Linked DNA regions of Homo sapiens: all the other regions are linked to region 1. Evidence: promoter capture Hi-C in 16 types of primary human blood cells and fetal thymus (Javierre and others, 2016). All regions are on one chromosome and are shown on one strand. The core of a region is centred on a gene start or on the middle of the fragment in contact, and the rest is flanking DNA. Distances in the headings are between cores, read along the strand shown.

Region 1 (2,972 bases), core at 331-2,830:
TTCTCATTGTTCAAGTCCCACCTATGAGTGAGATCATGTGGTGTTTGGTTTTCTGTCCTTGCGATAGTTTGCTGAGAATGATGGTTTCCAGCTTCATCCATGTCCCTACAAAGGACATTAACTCAACCTTTTTTATGGCTGCATAGTATTCCGTGGTGTATATGTGCCACATTTTCTTAATCCAGTCAAGAGATAGTATTATTCTATACAAGAATATTGACATACCTACTGAACTTAAAATACAAAAGGGCAGTTATGTTTCAAAAGTACAGATATCTCAAGTGTGAAAGGCAGCCAGTATCTGTATTGTATGGTTCTAAATACCAATTTGAAACAGATTGTGTACCAGTTTGGAACAGATTGTACAAAAAAGACTGAAACCACTTGAAAGTCCTCAAGAATATCAGGAAGTAAGAATGTAATTAACCAAACCAGGATTTGGCCCCAGGACAGAGAAATGAACACTCTCATTCTTAGAGAGGGAGCTAGGATTTCAGGAATGTACAGTCAATGCTTTGTGAAAATTTAAATAAATTCTTAGCAAGCAGATGGGAAGACATGAAAAAGCAATGTTCATTGCAACCAATTTCAGGTCACACTCCCAATTTCTCAATTGTTTTAATGCTGTCAACAAACTTGCTTTGCATGTAGCCAAGCAAACATAACTTAGTTCCATTTGTTCCTTTCTTTGATCAACTTTAGGTGAAGGTCAAAATAAGGACATACTTAAAATCTAAAAGTCTGCCGAAGTCAAGCCTGCATCTAAAGAGGCAGCAGCTGAGCTTAGCGATAAGGAAAAATGCCGACACCTTACTACTACACAATTCCGATGGGGTGGGGGGACAGAAATTAAGGAGGCAGGATTAACAGATTTCGAAGTTTAAAAAGTAAAGGTCATCGAAATGTCCCGTTCCTAAGTTTCCCAATACATTCCATGAAACTGCAGAGACTTTTTGGCCAAAATGGGATTTCCTAAAGAAGGGCCTCACAGATCTCAACGACAATGGTCCTGTAAGTGACCGAGCCAACCCCGGATGCGTTTCTGGAGTCTCTGAATACACGGACAGCGTATAAAGGTGGATGCGTACAGCTCCCTGACAGAACTGCTGGAGGCTGCTGTGCCTCCCAGGGCGCTAGGACAGAGGCTGCTGGGCCGGCTTCCTATGAAAGGCGAGCAGGGGGTGGGGCAGCACTGGGATTTTCCTCCCCACTCATTCATTCTCTGATTCACTCGTTCCTGTAGGCGGCTCACAGGGACTTGCGGAGGAAAGGCGAGGCACGAGCGGAGCCGCGGTTGAGTGCGGCCGGGCGCGGCCGGGCGCCTGAAGGGAGGGCGGAGGGCCGGCGCGGGGCGCGGGCTAGGGAAGGGCGGCGGGCGCGGCGGCCTGCGCCGGAAGTGAGTGGTTGGCGGCGGGCGGGGGCGGCGCGCGGTCCCGCGCGAGTCGGCCCTACAGTCGGCAGTCCGGCCCTCAACCCCGCCTTCTGCGTCTCGGCTGGACGCGAGCACACTCGGCTCCGCCGCCGCCGCCGCCGCCGCGGGGCGCTGCGGCCGCCCCGCCCCCGCTCCCGCCGCCGCCCGCCAGTCAGTCAGTCAGTCAGTCAGTCAGTCAGTCAGTCAGTCACTGAGCGCGCGGCGCGGGAGCTGCTGGCAGTCGCTGCGTCTCTGGCGAGGGAGCGCCGCGCCTGGGGAGGAGGCGGAGGCAGCGGCTGGAGGAGCGCGAGCGGCGGTTTCCTTGCCCGGGGCCGCGGGAAGGCCGACCGACTGCCGCGGTGAGTGGTTAGCCTCGCCCTCGGGGCCAGGGGGTAGGGAGCCGGCTGGGCGCGGGGCCGTGAGGCGCTCCTGCCGCTCCCGCCTCCATTTTCCCGGCGCCCGGCCCCGCCATCCGGGTGCGGTACGGTCGGCGGCAGCCTGGGGCGGGGTCGTTGCCAGGTTGGGGATCGGGCCGGGGCTGGCTGGACCGCTCCCGGCTGGTGGATGGAGGTCGGTGGGGCCTGGACTGCACCCTGCGCCCCTGGGGACCGCGACGGAGGGAGACAATGAGATAAGGGGCCGCCTGGGAGGGTGCGGTTAGGCTTCTCCGACCCAGCACCGGGGGCTGGTGGCCCGGGACCGCAGGGAGGAAAGGACTTTCCCCCGCCCAGCTGCAGAAACCAGCTACTGGATGTCGGGTTGCTTGGGTTTCGATGCCCCCATCTTTCATAGATGAGTTCAGTGCAGAGATTTTGAAAGGCGGGGCTCCTTCTGTGTCTTCTTTCTAATTAAACAGGATAAGTAATTGCTTCATTGCTTTTTAACCGCGTCTCCTCTTGCGGTCTGTATTATACATTCCCGCCGGAAATCCAAACTGCAATTCATGGGGGGGGGGGGGGGGTGGACGGAGGGAGGGGGCAGTGTGATAGTATTAGGATGCCTTCGTGTTAAGACAGGTTGAAAGATGTGGTTTTCTTAAGGCAGTGACTTAGGGTGTCCCCACTGTGTGAGCTGGAAACCGCATAAACCTTATTGCTTACAAGCTCGAAGACATGGTTTAATATGAAATAAGAGCCTTGAGGGAGGGTGTAAGTGTTACATGTGTCTTGCGTGTGTGCATTTCTTAAATTCTTTGGGAAGATCCGTTGGGGAAATCCGGGAGAATGGAAAAGTTCTTCACTCAATCTTCCAATAAGGGTTGATGTTGTCTGCAGCATTTCTCAGGGAAATGTGGAGAGCTGCTTATGTAGGTAAAGTCCACCGTTAAGGAACAGTAAAGGTAACGGGTTAGGGATGAGGCGTGATCGGATTATTAAAGAGTCAGTCCATGGGGATATTAAATTCAGCAAACATTTATGGAATACCTACTCTGTCAGTTAGGCTGGGTGACACCAGGTGAACAAGCATGGGGTGGTGGAAAGAGCTCTTCGGAGTGGGGGAAACCGTACGCCCTGGAATTGGCTTGCAATGTGAGTTGGATAAGCTATTGAACTCTGCAGTA
Region 2 (2,700 bases), core at 128-2,627, 250 kb before region 1:
TTTTGTTGCTCTGTATGAAATAGGATTTTTAAAGGAAGCTTCAACCTGGTAGTCATAAATAAATGACTAAATTAGCTTTGATTTTAGAAGCTTATATTGATGCTTGCTTTTCTGAAAAATTCAGTTTCTAAGAATATGCAAGTTAAACACTTGAATTATAGTGGTCAATATGGATTTACAATCGCAAAGCATAACTAGTTTCATGGCCTACAGAAAGCCTTTTTCTAGTCCTTCCCTTTTGACATAAATGCAGAACCTCTGTGTTGTAATATTAAATGGAAACATCCCAGAAAAATAATCCTCCAAGTTTGTCCAAATTGCTGGTTTGGCTTTAAGATCCAACAATTTTCTTTCAGATGTACCCTAGGGTACAACGAATTGTCATGGGGTTTTCCACATGCAGAAAAGTTTCAAAGTTGCAGATTGAAAACCTCCATTGAAACAAATGCATTATGTCACTTGAAATAAGAGCATCTGTACATACTTCACAAAATAATTTTCTTTGTTCAGCAGAGGAAGGCCAGATGATGCAATATCTAGCTTCCAGCTGCGCCTTCCTCACTGGCAATTCAGCCTCTTTTAGCGCTATTTGAAAGACTCCTGACCACTTACTGTGCAATTTTGATGTGCTTACACTCAATTCTTCATCTCATCACTGACAAGGAATAGGGAACAGAAATTGTATGAGAATGCATGTGTCCACAAAGCAACAGAACGATGGTTATCTTTCCCTCAGGCATTATTTTTTAAACACAAACAGCACCAAAGGAAGAGGGAAATCAGTCAGAGGCCTTGGGGATTCAAATGGAGGAAATCCTCCTACAGGATGAAGCTACACATCCTATAGAAAGTACACAAACAGCATTGTAAGCTGGATGTTGTTATATTTCTCTGAAGTTTTACCTTTTCCAAACTCTTTAAACCATGAATTGTTTTATTCTGCCAAAATAGATGAGCTAATAATTTGGCTGCCTGCTATTAAGGGAGGTTAAAAGACAAGCAGAGAAAAGTCCCGTAAATAAAACATAACCAAAATATTTCCGTTGATTTAAATATAGTCTTAGCACTTTAGAATTGACAATACTATCAGGGCCAAATGTTGAATAACAAATAATCAAAATAAGAGTGTTGAGTTGAAACAGCTGTCAAATCGGCCATTTAATGAAGGAGAAAAAAATGTTACAATTGTTTCATAATGTGAAGACATCTGCATGTCTGATAAAATTTTTAACTTTTCAAATTGGTATGGAGGGGAGCATTATTATTGATTGCCATTGTCTAGCCTTTGATAGTTCTGAATCTAGAAAACTGGACTTTTACTTATTTTCTGAAACTTTGCCCCAAGATAGATCTCTATGCTCCGGTATAACAAAAAAAAATTTTAATAAACAAACAAGATTCATGGCTTCGAAATGTCTTATATGGACCTTCAAATGCTTCATGGTGCACCACCACTGGTGGGATGTGTCCTTCGTTTAGACTCTTAGAAGCAATCAGGTGTTTTTCCCTCTTACCCCTGCCCTCTGACCTGCATCCTATTGAGAGATGACAGCGTGCTGGCAGTCCTCACAGCCCTCGTTCGCTCTCGGCGCCTCCTCTGCCTGGGCTCCCACTTTGGTGGCACTTGAGGAGCCCTTCAGCCCACCACTGCACTGTGGGAGCCCCTTTCTGGGCTGGCCAAGGCCGGTGCCGGCTCCCTCAGCTTGCAGGGAGGTGTGGAGGGAGAGACGCAAGCGGAAACCGGGGCTGCGCGCGCGGCGCTTGTGGGCCAGCTGGAGTTCCGGGTGGGCGTGGGCTTGGCGAGCCCTGCACTCGGAGCAGCCGGCCGGCCCTGCGGGCCTGGGCAATGAAGGGCTTAGCACCCAGGCCAGTGGCTGCGGAGAGTGTACTGGGTCCCCCAGCAGTGCCGGCCCACCGGCACTGCGCTCGATTTCTCACCGGGCCTTAGCTGCCTTCCCGCGGGGCAGGGCTTGGGACCTGCAGCCCGCCATGCCTGAGCCTCCCACCCCCTCCGTGGGCTCCTGTGCGGCCCGAGCCTCCCCGATGAGCGCCACCCCCTGCTCCACGGTGCCCAGTCCCATCGACCAGCCAAGGGCTGAGGAGTGCCGGCGGACGACACCTGGACTGGCAGGCAGCTCCACCTGCAGCCCCGGTGCGGGATCCACTGGGTGAAGCCAGCTGGGCTCCTGAATCTGGTGGGGAAGTGGAGAACCTTTATGTCTAGTTCGGAGATTGTAAATACACCAATCAGCACCCTGTGTCTAGCTCAGGGTCTGTGAATGCACCAATCGACACTCTGTATCTAGCCACTCTGGTGGGGCCTTGGAGAACCTTTATGTCTAGCTCAGGGATTGTAAATACACCAATGGGCACTCTGTATCTAGCTCAAGGTTTGTAAACACACCAATCAGCACCCTGTGTCTAGCTCAGGGTTTGTGAATGCACCAATCAACACTCTGTATCTAGCTACTCTGGTGGGGCCTTGGAGAACCTTTGTGTCTAGCTCAGGGATTGTAAATACACCAGTCAGCACCCTGTCAAAACAGACCACTGGGCTCTACCAATCAGCAGGATGTGGGTAGAGCCAGATAAGAGAATAAAAGCAGGCTGCCCAAGCCAGCAGTGGCAACCCACTCGGGTCTCCTTCCACACTGGGGAAGCTTTGTTCTTTCGCTCTTTGCAATAAATCTTGTTACTGCT
Region 3 (2,758 bases), core at 205-2,704, 150 kb before region 1:
GCAATGAGAAATGGCCCTAGGACGCCAGATAATACTTTAGCATTCATTAAACAGGAGCAAGCTTCCTTTGAGACTATCACACTTGTCTAGGAAAACAGAAGTTATAGCAGTTATACATTAACTAGCGTTGATCAGGCACTTTTCAATTCACACATGTTATCTCACAGAACTACTGTATAGGAGTAATTATTATTATTCCATTTGATAGATGGAAAGATCTAGTAAGTAGCAGAAAAGGATTCAAACACAATCCTTCCAGTCTAAGATTGTAATCTTGGAAAAGCTGATGGATTCTTTGACTCTGGCTTCTTGCTCTTTGCGATTAAACCATCACTTCAGAATGAGCTTCCGCCAGACTGTGTGAATGAGTGAAAGGGGCATTATCAGAAACCATCGTTCGGTTTGTGTGGTGGAGGGTGGGAAGTGGAGGATGGGGGTGAGTGAATGGCCTCATTTGCCACCAGTGTATGTGTTCCCTTTTCTCTGCCACTTTGCCAACATCTGTTATTTTTTGACTTGTTAATAATAGCCATTTTGACTGATGTGAGATGGCATCTCATAGTGGTTTGATTTGCATTTCTCTGATGATTAGGGATGTTGAGGATTTTTTATATGCTTGTTTGCTGCATGTACGTCTTCTTTTGAGAAGTCTCTGTCCTTTGCCCAATTTGTAATGGGGTTGTTTCTTTTTTGCTTGTTGAATTATTTAAGTTCCTTATAGATTCTGGGCATTAGACCTTTGTCAGATGCAGTTTCTGAGTTTTTCTAGTTTTAAATTGTCTTGTGATACTAAGAAGAATTTTTATTTGATTAACTGGAGACAGACCCTGCTTGCAAGTTCAATTTCTAAAATACCTGAAGAAATGAACAAACATTTCTTCTTCCCTCTCTCTTTCCTCCCTTCAAGCTGCAGAAATAGAAGCATTTTAATTTCAGCAGAAGGGAGTGAAGGTGGAGTGTTTACTCTGGGTCCACCCTCAGACATTTGGGAAACAAGGCTAACTTCTCAGGGCTTGCTGGTGATGCTGTGTCTCTATTGAGAAATTCGGACTTCCTAAAAATAGCAACCATAAGGTGCTGAGCAATGAGGGGTGGCAGACAGGCTAGTGATTTGCATTCCGCTTGCAGATGTTGTCCCAGAGGACTCTGAGGCTACCGCCCAAGGGAATAGGGAGGGCTCTGGCTGGCTGAATGGACTTTCTCCAGGTCCTAGAGGTCAGAGTTTCGAGAAAATTATGTCCATTCTTTTCCCAGATCTCTACTTAGGGAAGGTTTATGGAAATGCACAATATGTACCCAAGATTGTGGGTTTGTTCTCGCAGATCTCTCTCTAAGCTCTCTAGATCTATTACTGTCTTTTTATTTCTCAGAAATTCAGTCTACAAGCTGGACAAAGTTATGTATGTGTTTCTGTGCAAGCATGAGGTTAAGTACTTATTGCCTTTTCCCTTTTTCTACTCAGTCAGTATGCAAAAAAAGTCTCATATGAAAGTGGATATGCGGGCATTTTGTCCCCAACATTCCTCTTACATCCACCTGGCAAGACTATGTCCAATAAGTCTGACAGCTCTTAACCTTTTTTGTGTCAGGGACCCCTTTGGTGGTCTGGAAGCCTAAAGACCCCTTCTCACAATCATGTTTTGAAATGCATAAAATAAAATACATTGGATTGCAAAGAAAACTGAAAGTTTTGAAATGTAGTTTTCAAATATTTTTTTAAAAACAAATGTTCATGATATAGTAATAAATATGCTTCATTAACATATTAAATCTAGCTATGGTATGATAACTACCATAATTTTTTTTTTTTGAGACAGAGTCTCGCTCTGTTGCCCAGGCTGGAGTACAGTGGCACAATCTCGGCTCACTGCAAGCTCCACCACCCAGGTTCATGCCATTCTCCTGCCTCAGCCTCCCAAGTAGCTGGGACAACAGGCCCCGCCACCACGCCGAGCTAATTTTTTGTATTTTTAGTAGAGACGGGGTATCACCATAGCCAGGATGGTCTCAATCTCCTGACCTCATGAGCCACCCGCCTCGGCCTCCCAAAGTGCTGGGATTACAGACGTGAGCCACCGCATCCAGCCGATAACTACCATAATTTTGAAGTAGTGGTAAGCATAAGTAATATTTTGAGATACTTGGAACAACTATAATGTGACATGAAAATATCTGTGATTCTATTGATGACAAAGTGACAAGTACTGCAAAAAATACTGTGGTTTGTTACTTAAATATATCATTGAAATGTTAAATTTCAGTTGGAGAGGATAATGAAAAGGAAGGTATAATTTTTTTCTCAACCAAGTTTACATTGGACACCTAGTTAAGAACCCCTGAATACATTAGTATATCCGGTTCCCATCAGCATCTCATCTACCCACACATGGATGGCACACACACATACACACTCACAAACACACACACGCACACTACTGCATTCCCTATGGTCTCAATACTGGAATCTGGCAGCATTTTAATGACAACCATAAAGGACACTTCCCAGATGGTTTATGCAGTGAAAGATCAAGGAGCAGAAAGGGCAAATAACATTGTAGACCTCAGTAGCAGAATTCTCTGTAGCCTCCAGTTCCAAATACTAGTTGGGTGTGGATGGCCGCTCCCAACCATGGTTTTCTCCTTTCCTCATGATACCTGGACCAGAATGATAAGCTCTGCAGTTTCACATGTACTTGTTTTACTCCCACATTTTAGATAAAGTCCAACATTCCATTCTACTTACTATTACTCAGCAAGG
Region 4 (2,700 bases), core at 174-2,673, 210 kb before region 1:
CATAAAAATGAAACACAAATCAACTCAATGATAAAATATCATTTCAAACTATCAAACTGGCAAAGATCAAACATGTTAACACTGTGCTAATGAGAATAAATAGGGTAAAAGGCTCTCTCATACGTGACTGATGGGACTGTATATCAATATAACCTCTGTGCAAAGCAAATTGGCAATATTTCTAAAAATTAAAAATGCAAGTACTCCTTCTCAAAGCTATTCTATTTCCCACAAGTTTGAAAAGCTGTGTATTGCTTTTCAGGGCCAGATTGGAATTCCAGTCCACAATAGTCTTTCACCTCTGAACTTGAATTGTATATCATTTAATTAGAGCTTAGTATATACTACCTTTATGACGAGTTATTTCCCCAACCAAGTAGTAAATTGCTAAGGTCAAAACTCTGTCAAATCTCTTTCTGTCCTTCTCAGTCCCCATCACTAGACTGAACACATGTGTGGCCAGTTTGTGTCCTTTTCATAGGACACAAGCAGGAAATCCCCAAGCCATTCTAGAAGCTAATGTGTTATCCCAGGGCCCCCAGAGAAGATCAATGTTGCTGGAGGTGCCACTGTCAGAATCAAAGACAGACTGAAAGGATGAAGATCCAGGCCCAGTACATCTACTTTGGTCTTATGATAACATTTCATTATTAGAAAATTTTAAATATAAGTATACTTTGAATTTTTAAACGTGACTTTTTTTTTTTTTGAGACAGAGTCTCGCTCTGTTGCCCAGGCTGGAGTGCAGTGGCGCCATCTCGGCTCACTGCAACCTCCGCCTCCCAGGTTCAAGCGATTCTCCTGCCTCAGCCTCCCAAGTAGCTGGGATTACAGGCACGCACCATCACGCCCAGCTAATTTTTGTATTTTTAGTAGAGACAGGGTTTCACCATGTTGGCCTCCATCTCCTGACCTCGTGATCTGCCCGCCTCAGCCTCCCAAAGTACTGGGATTACAGGCATGAGGCACCACACCCAGCCTAAAATATTATTTTACAACTACAAAAACCAATCTCCTCTACAGGCCGCTGGAGTTTAGGCCAGCATTAGGTAACACAGGGGTAGAAAGAGATCACTGAACTAGGAGAATCATGGAAGATTTTACTGATATGTTGTATTTTATATTACCAGGAAGTGAGCCAGTGTTCTCATTTTTCACATACATACTTTAATTCAAAATACAAATATTGGCTGGACTTGGTGGCTCATGCCTGTAAACTCAGCACTTTGGAAGGCTGAGGCGGGCAGATCACTTGAGGTCAGGAGTTCGAGACCAGCCCGGCCACATGATGAAACCCCATCTCTACTGAAAACATACAAAAATTAGCTGGGCGTGCTGGTGGGCACCTGTAATCCCAGCTACTTGGGAGGCTGATGCAGGAGAATTGCTTGAACCTGGGAGGCAGAGGTTGCAGTGAGCCACTGTACCACTGCACTCCGGCCTGGGTGACAGAGTGAGACCGGGTCTCAAAACTAAAAATAACAGAAAAATACAAATAATTTGGTTCCTTCCTGGAGGTGCTCCTTCTCAGCAATGTGTATGACAAAAAGAAGGGAAGAAGAAAATCTTGATGATCTCTTGTGGGGGTCTTTGTATCCTCTGCTGTTCTGTGATTTATAATGCTTCCCAAAGAAGCAAATTGCCCAAATTTCATATGTCAGTGGACGTGGATATTGTCCTAAATGTGGTAATAACATTTAGTTATTCAGGGTTATCAGTGATTAATAATTGAACATGTCAATAGAACAAGATACTATTGAGTCAAATTCTTTGTATCCCCCAAATAATAGAATATATTAGTATTTATACACATCAATAAACATGAAGTTATCAGAATGCTTTAAACTTCATGTAATAGAAAATCTAACCCAAAAGGGCTTAAACAATAAAGTTATTTACTGTCTCACATGACAAGAACTGGAAGGAAGGAAGGGAGGAAGGAAGGAAGGAAGGAAGGAAGGAAGCAAGGAGAATTCAAGTCGGCTCAATCTGCAGCTCAATAATGTCACCAAGATCCAGGTTCCTCCCCTCTTTCTGCTCTTCCTGCCTCAGCATGTTCTCAGGCCAATTCCTCCCCTGGTCGCAAAGAGGCTATATCAGATGCTGCTTGCAGACATAACATTCTATAGCAGAAAGGAAACTTTGTTTCCAAACATCTCTTTTTAAAGAGCAAGGAGAGGCTGAGCACGGTGGCTCACACCTGTAATCCCAGCACTTTGGAGGCCGAGGCAAGTAGATCACTTGAGGTCAGGAGTTCGGGACCAGCCTGGCGAACATGGTGAAATCCTGTCTCTACTAAAAATACAAAAATTAGCCAGGCATGGTGGTACATGCCTGTAGTCCCAGCTACTCAGGAGACTGAGGCACAAGAATTGCTTGAACCCAGGAAGCTGGAGGTTGCAGTGAGGTTGCAGTTAGCCAAGATGGCACCACTGCACTCCAGCCTGGGCAACAGAGTGAGACTGTCTCAAAATAAAAAAAAGAGCAAAAAGAAACTTTATCAGAGACCCGTCAGGCTATTGGTCAGAATTTTATCATGTGTCCATGCCTAAACCAATCACTGATGAGAAGGTTAGGACTACCATTCTGGCTTAAACTAATCCTTATCCACTCCCTGGAACTCCCCAGAGCACATGGAGAGTAGATAACTGAACACAATTAGAGTTCTGTTTGTTGCCAAGGAAGGATAAACAGTTTTTG

Evidence for each region. The method cuts DNA at HindIII sites, captures the fragments that hold promoters and counts their contacts. A CHiCAGO score of 5 or more calls a contact.
Region 2: a fragment that was not itself captured here is called in contact with the fragment with the promoter of RAPH1 in region 1 in 1 of 17 cell types (M0 macrophages); the score reaches 5.3 in M0 macrophages.
Region 3: a fragment that was not itself captured here is called in contact with the fragment with the promoter of RAPH1 in region 1 in 1 of 17 cell types (monocytes); the score reaches 5.0 in monocytes.
Region 4: a contact is called between a fragment that was not itself captured here and the fragment with the promoter of RAPH1 in region 1, in 3 of 17 cell types (non-activated CD4 T cells, total CD8 T cells and naive CD4 T cells). The highest score is 5.3, in non-activated CD4 T cells.

Annotation. Positions count from the first base shown.
Region 1 is chr2:203,533,909-203,536,880 of GRCh38, reverse strand. It overlaps RAPH1 (Ras association (RalGDS/AF-6) and pleckstrin homology domains 1), which reads left to right and starts at 1,580. Exons shown (of 14, transcript NM_213589.3): 1 at 1,580-1,770. RefSeq lists silencers at 1,432-1,501, 1,552-1,641, 1,712-1,811. The HindIII fragment of the contact is 18,695 bases long and covers 1-2,972 here.
Region 2 is chr2:203,784,980-203,787,679 of GRCh38, reverse strand. No RefSeq gene overlaps it. Among named protein-coding and RNA genes, the nearest start is that of CD28, 80 kb to the right of the region's middle. The HindIII fragment of the contact is 2,570 bases long and covers 93-2,662 here.
Region 3 is chr2:203,687,343-203,690,100 of GRCh38, reverse strand. No RefSeq gene overlaps it. Among named protein-coding and RNA genes, the nearest start is that of CD28, 18 kb to the left of the region's middle. The HindIII fragment of the contact is 2,782 bases long and covers 64-2,758 here.
Region 4 is chr2:203,745,822-203,748,521 of GRCh38, reverse strand. No RefSeq gene overlaps it. Among named protein-coding and RNA genes, the nearest start is that of CD28, 41 kb to the right of the region's middle. The HindIII fragment of the contact is 3,216 bases long and covers 1-2,700 here.